3 separate regions of the Homo sapiens genome follow, and regions 1 and 2 are each linked to region 3. Evidence: promoter capture Hi-C in human tissues and cell types (Jung and others, 2019). All regions are on one chromosome and are shown on one strand. Each heading gives the region's core, a stretch centred on a gene start or on the middle of the fragment in contact. The rest is flanking DNA. Distances are from core to core; before and after follow the strand shown.

What was found. The method cuts DNA at HindIII sites, captures the fragments that hold promoters and counts their contacts. A contact is called where the count stands out against the background at its distance.
Region 1: a contact is called between a fragment that was not itself captured here and the fragment with the promoter of TECTA in region 3, in 1 of the 25 tissues and cell types used here (dorsolateral prefrontal cortex).
Region 2: a fragment that was not itself captured here is called in contact with the fragment with the promoter of TECTA in region 3 in 1 of the 25 tissues and cell types used here (H1 embryonic stem cells).

What each region holds. Positions count from the first base shown.
Region 1 is chr11:120,631,840-120,635,565 of GRCh38, reverse strand. The region is part of intron 1 of GRIK4 (glutamate ionotropic receptor kainate type subunit 4); the gene reads right to left. Among named protein-coding and RNA genes, the nearest start is that of GRIK4, 120 kb to the right of the region's middle. RefSeq lists an enhancer at 649-1,628. The HindIII fragment of the contact is 5,851 bases long and covers 1-3,726 here.
Region 2 is chr11:120,676,867-120,680,393 of GRCh38, reverse strand. The region is part of intron 3 of GRIK4 (glutamate ionotropic receptor kainate type subunit 4); the gene reads right to left. Among named protein-coding and RNA genes, the nearest start is that of GRIK4, 170 kb to the right of the region's middle. The HindIII fragment of the contact is 4,409 bases long and covers 1-3,527 here.
Region 3 is chr11:121,099,870-121,103,898 of GRCh38, reverse strand. TECTA (tectorin alpha) reads right to left here and starts at 2,656. Exons shown (of 24, transcript NM_005422.4): 1 at 2,457-2,656; 2 at 1,170-1,234. The coding sequence starts at 1,233. It overlaps TBCEL-TECTA (TBCEL-TECTA readthrough), which reads right to left. Exons shown (of 30, transcript NM_001378761.1): 8 at 1,170-1,234. The HindIII fragment of the contact is 17,013 bases long and covers 1-4,029 here.

The DNA of each region.
Region 1 (3,726 bases), core at 412-2,911, 470 kb after region 3:
ACTACCCCTCCCTGGGGGACTTCCTTTTTAATAAAGCAGAATCGCTTTAACTCAAAATAGTAACTATCACCAGGCATCCGGAGCAGGAGCAAGGAGAGCTATGGGGTGGGGCTGGGGGCACTCTCCAACACCCCTGAGCTCCCTGAATGTCAGGAAGGCCCTGGGTGACTGCGGCACGCAGGACTCAGGGTGCAGTGCAAGGCTTGCCAGGGAATTTGCAACTTCAAAATACACACAGGACTCTGACCTACGCCTCTCAATTTGCATAGCTGACTCAGTGCACCTTGGGTGGTTGCAGCATGTTTCCAAGAATTATTCAAACATCTGTCCCCTTCTGAGTGGGGAAGGGGTTGGGGTGGGATGTGCTTGGTTCCTAACCCAAGATGATCTCTGACAAGAGTTCATGGCAGGCAGAGAAGGAACCCGACCCTTTGCAGGGACCGTAATATGAAGTTTCAGCTGGGAATCCTGGGCCACACTCAGCTGCCCTCCTATCTCCTCTGTCTGGAAAACGGAAAGAAGGCAAGAAACAAGCCCCATAGCTGCTCAAGGTCCTCTGGCCTCCCTGGTCTGTCTTCTCCCAGGCTTTGCTCCCCAGCTGCCAAGGCGAAGCTCAACTGAGGTGCAAGGGGGACGTTCGCATCTCGCTTTCCCTAGAGATGGCGGATGCTCAGTCTGGCCACCTGCTCAAGTCAAGTAGCAGGCAGGTCACATGCTTGGCGACTCCGTGAGCTGGGCACGAAGATTGGCAGAGAGGAGGAAGGGAAGCCCTGGCAAGGTGAATCGCCCCCTCCTGCCCACGAGGGTCTCTTGAGAACTCCCACAAGGAACCTCCCACTGTCTCCGGACTCCGTTCTCTGTCTCTTTTCAGCTCCCAAATCTGCTGTCTCCAGATCACTGGGGTTTCCAGACAGAGCAACAAGTCTCCCATCTGACAGACTCAATTCCGAGTGGGTCCCTAGAGGAACAGAGTCTCTCTGAAGAGTCTGGGGTAGGCAGGCCGGCAGGCTGGGAGAGTCTTTGGTGTCTGGGAGGGCTCCTTCCAGAAAGGCCAAGGCGAGGCCCTGGCAGAAGCTGCAGAACCCTTGGGGGAGGAGGGAACTCTGTGTTACAAGCAGAGAACTTTCAACCTGGGAAATGGCACCACGGGATGGTGGCGGGGTGGTGTGGGAGAAGCTTTGGAATGGGGAAAGCTGGGTTTGAATGCCAGCTCCGCCTCCTGTTTGCTGCAGAACTTCAGGCATAGCCCTGGCACTGAGTAGGGTCTCAGCACACGTTAGCTGTCATGTTCAACAACTAACACTCTAACAAGGCTAGAGTGACAGAGAGAGTGCGTCAGGAAACACAGGGCACCAGAGGCCCCCTCTTGCCATTTATTCGGCGGCTTACAACTTGTCAGGCAGGACGCCAAGCACTTTACATATATTATCGTGCTTAATCTGCACACACACTGGAAGGCAGGTCTAAAGAGCCCCATTTTAGAAATGAGGTTCAGAAAGGTGCAGCCGCTGCTCTAACGTTACACTGCTCATAAGCGGAAACAACAGGATTTGAACCTACGTTTGGCCACCTCCAAGTTCTGTCCTACTAATCGCTGTGCTCTCTCTCCCCAAGAGCCCTTCTCCCACCCCCGTGCTCACAGATCTTCAGTTTGCATCAGCTCAGAGGTTTGCAATCGTCTTTCACACATCCCACTGGGAGATGTGCCGCAAGCAGGGCCCTTATCTCAAAAAATCTCCATGCCCAGCCACACTTCCCTTCTGCCTATGCTTGGTTCTCCCCAGCAAACCCCCACAGTAGCAGCAGGGAGACAGAGAAACTCTCCCTTCCCCTCCCAGCCTCTCCCTGCTCAGGGGCCTTCTAATGCTAACACAGCCCATCCCCTTTCATTTGAGGGGACCTGTGGCTTTCATTTCCCTCTTTACTTAAAAAAGCCAACTCAGTACACTTTTGATGCTTCAAATTTATCTTTATTAATAAACAATAAAAGTTAAAAGCTTCCCCGGTCCCTAATTAAACACCATCAATAGCAGATATGGCAGCCTAGCTTCAGACACAGAGCAACGTCCTGACAATGTCTAAGTCAAAGGCTTTCAAAGCAGGTGCATGCGAGCACACACATGTGCTCACGTGCACAGAACAAGGCATGGGCAGCGATTAAGAGGGGCCAGCGTCTGCAGAGAGTCCTCTTTATCCCAGGAAATGGCTCTCTCCGCTCCCCATCGAGAAGGCCTGGGAGTCCTATGAGGCCTGGCCCTGCACTCACTGTGTCTCTGATTTACAGGGCTCTGAAAGCCTGACATGGCCATTTAAGTACTTTAAATATGCCCAAAATGATAATTACCTTGCCATTGGCACTTCATCTTAAACGAAGCTCCAGGCCAAGAAGACTCTGAACTCACTGTCACTGAACATATAATGTTCTTGGTTGACTCTACTCTTCTGCATGGCGCTGGTGGCTCTGTGGGCAGCTGCCACCCAAGGCAAAGGGCACTGAACTTAGGATCAGATGACCAAGGTGCCATCATCTGTTTGTGTGCCTGGGTGAACCATGTGCCTTCTAAGTTTCCTCATCTGTTAAATGGCTGATGATAGAACCAGCCCATCTCATGGCTTATTTGTGAGGGCCAAAGGAAACGACCTGTGAACTCCAAGGTGGGTTAAGACGTGAGCTAGTAACAAGGTCATAGTGTCAATGGCCCCAAGCTGGGTGTTCCTCTACAGCAGAGAAGCACACTCCAGTCTCCCCAGTGGTGGAGAAGGGCTTATCAACTCTGAGCACACAGAAGCCTCTGGGGGATGCTGGTGGTAGTGCAAGGGGTTGCAGGAGATCCTCAGAATCAGGAACCCTCAGTTCTGGGGGTGCTCTTCTACCCATTCCCAGGACATGCTGGGTGGTGTGAGTTGAGTGCTATTCCTGGAAGAGCCAAGTTTTCAGCAAGATAAATGGAGCTGCAAGAGCAGGAAGAAGGTGGCTGGGACAAACGGGGACAAGTGTTAGACTTCTATATCTCATACCTGGAGCTAACCTGGAAACGGGAAGCACAGTGAGACCCTCGGGTTCTAAGTGAGCAGGGTCCAGCCTGACAATACAGGACAAGGAGAAGAAAGAGAGGAGGAGAAGGGGACACGGAGCATGGAAGCAGAACCCCACCCTGAGCTACGTTCTTTACTCATTATCTCAATTCAGCCTTATAAATCTATGAGGTGGATGTCGTAGTTTGAGGTGGTTTATAAACCATAGAAATTTATTTCTCACCGTTCTGAAGGCTAGAGGTCTGAGATCAAGGTGCGACATGGTCAGGTTCTGGTGAAGGCTGTCTTCCAGGTTGCAGATGGCCAGCTTCTTGTATCTTCACATGGTGGAAAGAGAGAGCAAGCTCTCTGGGGTCTCTTATACAAGGGCACACATCCCATTCATGAGGCCTCCACGCCTATGACCTCCCAAAGGCTCACTTCTTAATACCATCACACTGGGGGCTAGGATTCAACACACGAATTTCAAGGGGACACAAACATTCAGTCCACAGCAGTGGGTACTGCCATTCATTTCCAGATGAGGAAGCTTGGAAGGGGTAAGGAGCTTGCCCCTGACTGCTCAACAGTATATGATCATGCTGGACTTCAAACCTGGGATCACCTGACTCCAAGTTGGTGTTCTCATCCCCACCCCACCAAGCTCCAAGGCTGGGGGTCTCTGGAGCAGATGGAACCTGTGTGCCTCCT
Region 2 (3,527 bases), core at 611-3,110, 420 kb after region 3:
AAAGGCCATCGGGCCAGGCACAGTGGCTCACGTCTGTAATACTTAGGGAGCACTTAGGGAGGCCGGGGCAGGTTGATCACCTGAGATCAGGAGCTTGAGACCAGCCTGGCCAACATGGCAAAACCCCATCTCTACTAAAAATATAAAAATTAGCCAGGCATGCTGGAGCGCACCTGTAGTCCCAGCTACTTGGGAGGCTGAGGCAGGAGAATCACTTGAGCCTGGGAGGTGGCAGTTGCAATGAGCTAAGATCACGCCACTGCACTCCAGCCTGGGTGACAGAGTGAGACTCTATCTCAAGAAAAGAAAGGGCCATCAGAGAAGGGCCTTCAGAGGAGGAGGTCATATATAAGCAAGGCCTTGAATGGTGAATAAAATTCTGCTGGGCAGGCAAGGTGAGAAGAAGAGTATTCTAGGCAGTGGAGACAGCAAAGGCCCAGCGATGTGAGAGGCAAGGATGTTCTAGGGACTCCAGCGTCTGCAGTACAGAATTCATGGGTATTGAGTGTTTACGGTAGGGATAGGGATGGGAACGATGTTGAAAGATGAAGCCACCTGGATCATCTGCAGCCTGCCTGTGAAGGCTTCCCATGCCCTGAAAAGGAGTTTGAGCTTCCTCCTGCAAAGACAGAACTGAGAAAGAGTGAGGATGGGAGGCATGAGAGAGCCCAAAGGTTAGCATGTCTGAGGTGGGCAGGGGAGGTTCAGTTAGACAAGTCCTCCCTGCCAGGAGGGTCCCTGCTCTCTTCATGTGTCCAGAGGGTGGAGACACTACAGGTTCCCATCTTGGTGCCTCTGGGCCTGGCACTGCCCAGCTGCTCCCTGCACCATCACAACTCTAGGCAGACACCCTGCCTGCCATGCAGTGGCCTGTCCCAGGACTGTATTAGATGGCCCTGCATGGGCCATGCTCCAGGGACCACTGGCAGCTCCTTCCCAGTGGGCTGCAAAACACTGGGGAAAAGAACAGAGAAGCCAAGAGCTGCATTCTCCATACTCTTTCCTGGGCTCCGGGGGCACTAGGTTTTCCATTCTTTTCCTGGGCTGTTTACTCAAAAAGTTAAGCTTAACCAAAAGAGAAGAAGGGCACTGACTCTGACGGAGGGCAGGGCAGTATAAGGGACATGTGGTCTCTCCAGAGGCAGACAGGGCTTGGATTTGAACACCAGCTAAGTTATGAATTTCTCTGAGCCTCTGGTTTTTCATCTGTGAAATGGAGGTGGTGGTAGGATTAATCATTTTGAAGAGCATTTACCATACTGCCTGGCACATAATAAATACTGAATAAATGCTGCTGTTATTATAAAGCTAGATATTTCTAGCTCCAGAAGTCCCAACTCTTATCTCAAACTCTTCTCTCCCTTTAGGGTGTTCTCTGCACTCCCACCCCTATTCCCTCTATTTTAAGGATTGGCTCTTTAAAAACAAAAACAAAAACAAACAAACAAAAAAAAAAAACCAGGCCAGGCGTGGTGGCTCATACCTGTAATCCCAGCACTTTGGGAGGCCGAGGCATGTGGATCACAAGGTCGGGAGTTCGAGACCAGCCTGGCCAAGATGGTGAAACCCTGTCTCTATTAAAAATACAAAAAATTAACCAGGTGTGGTGGCACGTACCTGTAATCCCAGCTACATGGGAGGCTGGGGCAGGAGAATTGCTTGAACCCGGTGGGTGGAGGTTGTAGTGAGCCAAGATCGTGCCACTTTACTCCAGCCTGGATGACGGAGCAAGACTCCGTCTCAAAAACAAAAACTAAAACAAAAAAAAAAAAACCCTTCTAGTGGAGCCCCTCGCCTGGTCTATAGGACCACCAGCCAAGCCACTCCTCTATTTTGGCCCCTTCCCTTGGTGCTTTCCTGAAAGAGAAGCACCCGGTACACTTAGCTGGCTGAATAAATAGCAATAATAATAAATGTTCAGCTATTAGCCGCATAAGTAATCAAAGATCACTGCCATATGATTCCTGGTTAAACATCATTTGGAATCTAATAAATAAGCGACTATAAATAAAGCCAGCATGCAGACTTGGCCCTTCTGAGCACCACAGCCTCAGCTCTCAATTTTAACCTAACGGTGCCTTTAGCACTAACCCTGTGGTTCCATTTTAAGTTAGTTCCTCTCTCTCAAGTGTCTGAAAAGGAAACCAGCAGAGGTGGGGACAAGAAGGGGGATGAGGTGTGGGGTCTGCCCTAAAGAAACGGAGGTTGTCCCATGGGTCTTGGGCAGACCTCAATCACACCTACCTTCTCTTGCACCTCCAGAGCCACAGGCACTGCCCAGAGGCCTCGGGGTCTCTGCAGAGGGGAGCACAGCAGGGAGGAGTCTAGTGTAATAGATAGAGCATGGGGTTGGCGCCAGGGAGTCTGGCTCAAATCCAGCATCTTCCATGTTCTGCATGGGTGACCTTGGTCCCTCCACACCTCAGTTTCCACACCCAAATAGCAGACATTACCAAACCTACCTCTGGAGGTTGTTATAAAAATTAATCATATAACTTATGGAAGTGATGGGCACAGTAGATGCTCAATAAACATGAATGTCATCCCCTCTCCTGTGATGTACAGTATCTTAAAGGGATGGTCCACTGCCCTCTCTCTTACTCTGCTCTAGGCAGCAACAAAAGAAATATCAAACAGGGAAAAGGAGGCGCAAAATGGCAATGTCCCCACGGTCCCTGGACCACCACAGTCACCACTGCCTAACTCCAGAGCTGATGTCTCAGCACTTAATACTTCCTTATTTCGTATCGCCCTCTAGTTCCTTCATGTCTGAGAGTCTGGCCTTTCCACATTTAGAACATGTACCAACAAAATATCCTATTTCTTTGTATTTTCCATAGAGCTGAGCCCTAAACAGGGCATTGTCAGTATTAAGTAAGTACCAGAGAACAGAGGAACAGGCAGGACCAGCTTCAGATCCTAAGTGTTCTCATTCTTCACACATAGCAGTACTCTCCTACATCACATTGCTTCTTAAAGCACACATAGATCTGTGCCCTTCTGGAAGGATGGCAGGCAGAATAAGACAGAGTCTGCTGGGACTGTGGCGGGATGTTATTCTCTCTAGACCCCATGGCAGGAAATAAACACATCATTCTGAGCGGAGCCCAGCGGAGCCCACACAACACAGGCTCAGATCACACTCAGCTCTCAGGCTACTCCTTTAGTGCCCTGACATGTTAGGAGTGGCGAGATTACTAAATCAACGTGATAAAATACTTCCTGTTACACAGCCCCTTCCCAGCTGTCTCTTCCCTGGTGGCATAATCTCAGTTGCAGTAATGGAAGAGCCAACATGTCCAGTTCCCTCTGTCCATTGAAAAAAACACATCAGCTTCGGTGCTCTGGGATGCCTGGTTCTTATGCAAAATGGTTGATGATCACAGGAGTAAGGCAACTTGGGCCAAGGATCGAGCTATGGACAGTTTCCAAGTGTGCAGTCCCTGCACATGGAACTGCTCATGAGAAGGTTTTCCAGCGGCTTAGCCTCCCACATTACAAGAACAGTTGTTGTAGAAAGAATAATG
Region 3 (4,029 bases), core at 1,407-3,906:
CACAATTTTGAATAGGAAAGAACGGACTGTTAAATATTTTTAATTTTAAGAAGGATACAAACATTAAGAATATCTAATATGGTAAATAATACTTGTCAAATGAAAAAGAGGGTGCTAAACACAAGGGCGTAGGTTTAAACTACGGTAATTAACACTGCAGAAGCCATTATTATTTTTATATATATATATAAAACTGTTAGCAGCATGGCCTATCAATAACATCAGAGTTGCTAAAAGAAAGAATATCCCTATCCATGCTTGCCCTAAGCTGAGAATTTCACAATAAACATAGCTATGTTTCCAGGATTTTTTTTTTCCCACCAAATAAAATGTACTTTCTTGGAGCTGGGGTAGGAGGTTGAAGTCAAGGGCCCTCTTTCATTCCCGTGGGGTTTCACACTATGGTTTAACTGCTTAAATTCACCAATTCTGGAAAAATATTAGCACTGCACAGGGGCTTGACGTGTTCATCTCAGACTTGTACTCATGTGCCACTTGAACTAGACAAACTCGCAAGGTAAAGAAAGGTGCCTTAGAATTTTAGCCATAAAAAGTTAAAATCTACGTAGACCGCCCCGTCTTTGTCTAAAATCCAAAACAACAGTAGAAAAAAGACATATGTGGCCTTTCACTTACCCAGGGCAGTGCTACACAGAGAAAAAGAAGGAATCACTGAGGGGAAAAATTGTCTTATTTAAGTTTTAGATTTGAGGGCCACGTAAAAGGTCACTGATACACAAACCACTGACATCAATGCTATTGTAATTTCCTAGTTTTTGGCCGAAATAAGTAGATTCTTTAAAGTCTCCACCACAAATTAAATGCCTTAATGGAAATCAGTGATCAGACATGAAGTGCACATACCCCTATCTTATCTACTTTTAATGGAAATAATTTTGCGTAATTTTAAAGATCTACTCCACTAGCACAGGGCAAGCTGGTACATACAAATAGTATTTGAAGTTAAATAAGAAAAAAGTGGGAATATAAGTAAACCTCATTTAAAGTTAATGAATTTTACCCTTGATAATAGAATTTAATTACATTTTTCTCTTGTATCTGTAGACACACATGCACCTGCCCTTACAATTGTGGTTCCAATAAAAGTGTCTCTTTATCAATTCAAGAGCATGCTAACTGAGAGCTTTATGGAATTCTGTAGTACTCACCTTGGTGCTGTACAAGTGCGAAGATGAAAGAGACCCAAATTCTAAGGAATGATGAATAATTCATCCTGGAATTTTAAAAAGAAAATGAAAAAAAAATCCCCAGCTTGCCAGAGTAAACAGAACACCAGGTGTGTTTAGTGGCTAATCCCAAGACCATCAAAACCGTCATAGAACAAATTCACATAACAACATCAACAGTGCTGAGTCGGGCTGAAATCCCCTGAATGCTGGCAGGTCCTCCGAAGTTCAACACTTCATGAACAAATTAGATGCCCAGAAGAAGCCAGTCTGGAAGTGTAATGAGATCATTCAAACTGTCAAGTAATTATTTAGGATCAGTGAGAGTGGTATGCGTAAAGGAAAGGTATCCCCTCTGCATCAAATAAAGCGCTGAAAACTAGGACCCAACGCTAAAGATGCATGCAGGTCCCGGGTTGTGTCTCTGCAGCAGAAACCACACCCCAGTGAGACCTGGATTTCCTAATTTTCACTACAGCTTTCCATCAGAATCAAACAAAAGTTGGTTAAAACACAATGTGTTCTACAGCTAGGAGAATTTAGAGTCTGCCATCACCTTCTCCATAGAATGGAGCCGATCCATCATTTTGAAGTATTGACCAGATTCAGGGCCAGTCTACTCTGTTCACTGACTTCCCACAGTGAAATGAATGATAGAAACATTAGTAATAAAAAAGGACCAATCCAGAGTTGGAATCACAATAAAAATAGAATCCAGCGCACAAGCAACCAATTAGTTCCAGCAAGTTAATTAAAGAAGGAACACAGCAAAGAGAAACTTGTTTTCGTGTTAGTTTACAATCGGTTGCATGGTGGCTTTACCCTCCATCAGGAGCATGTTTTGTCTGTGTCACTCTGCAAAGCTGCGATGAGAACACGGACGCAAGCTCAAGTTAGACATCACCCAAGCGTGTGGCTAGACCATGAAGTCTCCTCCTGACAGTATTCTTAAAAAAGAAAAACCTTCCTCTTATCATTTGAAGTTATCACAATTCTTCAGCCAAACTTTCACGGGAAAGGCAATGAATTTATCCTGTGAGAGTTTTATTGCAAATCTTTAGTTGTCAAGTATATATGTTGTAATTTCAAGCACATATTAAATATTAGACAGTTTTGCTGGAAAGGGTACAAAGGTTTAGCAGAGATCACACACAGCTTTAATGGAGAAGATGCCGTGCAAGTTTAAGACTAGAGCCCTTAGGGAACCGGTTCAGAGAGAAGTAAGGAGGATTCATTTAGATATTTGTATTTATGAAAAATGTCACTAACCTGTTCTGTAGAGGCTGGAGGAACTGAGTCAGAAATATTAAGCCAAATCTTGGTAAGCCAGAAAAAATTAGGTAAAACAAGAATTCATGTCAGTTCTCCTCAACTTGTTGCCAATAATTTCTGATTCCTGAAATAATGTCTGAATCTCGTACTCTTAAAACCAAAAATTAAGTTAGTCCTGCACTAGAGACAGGTAAGTGTTGAGCTGCAATCAAGTTTTTTTCTATTGATTAAGGAAAAGTAAATCTAAAGATCAGTTTCAGGATTGCGTAGAGAGGTTCTTTTCCTGAAAAACTAGACCTTTTTTTTTCCCCTTTGAAAAAAAAAGTAGATTCAGATGGAAATGTCAGGTACTTGGAGCTGAAACCTTGGGCCTTTCTGATCAGAATCACTTTGCACTGAAAAACACAAAAGAAAACCCCCCTTCTACCTTTGTACCCAAAAGAAGGCAACTGTATAATGTTACAGAATTAGCATCCACCAGCATGGGATTAAAACTCCAAACAAAGCAGCTGCCTCCAACATTTAAATGAAGTTGGTTTTCTATTAAAGTCTTTTTTTGTTTCTCTGGTTTTCAACAGTCGCCACAGATAGGCTCTACTCTATTTTTTCACAGGTATGCATGAAGTATTTAAAGAAAATTTCCAAACTTTTTAGGTTTTATGCCCTCTCTTTTCTCTCTGATGCACCGCTCTGCAGGAGATAGGACAGGGCACTTTCCAGGCAAAATCTAACAAGGGACCTAGCGCTAGACACGATCTTCCACAAGGGAAATCTCAAACTGTGGCCTGGAAACCTTCCCTAACACCCAGTGAGGGTCACTGGAGGCAGAGGGGGGAGATAAACCCCTTCTGATAAAAAATTTGCAGTAAGTAAATAGTTTAAAAGGCATGTGAATAAGAGGAAAACGTGCTCGGTTAGATGCTTCCAAGCATCCAGTAGATGTGGAATGAGCAAAACTGGCTAAGGCATAAGCTAAATCTACTATTCAAAATGTTTAAATGGAATTTATTAAGAAAGAAGTAACTTGACTGTAGCAGGAAAAAAAAACTCTTCTGCACATCAATGGGAATTTAAAAATTACTGCAAATTTTCTCTGACCAGACATTTAAATGCCAACTGTACAAAAGAAATATAATTCTGGGTTTAAGCATGTTGTCTTAAAATGGACAAGAGTGCTTGGCGAGCTAAATTTTTTTAGTTTAAATTACTCCGTGTTTTTCCAAAAACCTGTGATAATTCAGTAGGTTTCCCACATTGTTTATTCTCTCACTGGTATTATGAATCCTCCACACATATTTACTTACAGATGTTAAATGACTGCTTCTTTCCAAATGACTCACATTTATTTGTTTTTCTTTGGATTCTAGGAGTGCTTAGAATGGCGTATATTTATATAACAGAAAAGCTAGTTTCTTGGGTGCCTATTTAAAATAAAATTAAGTTCAAATCAAAGACTCATTACAGAAGGATTCTCTTTGTCCAGCCTTAGGTTTTAGTCCAGTAGCCAACCTAAATGTCTTGAAGCAAAATCGCTGGCTGTGTTTTAATTAACTGCTGGTGGCATACTAAT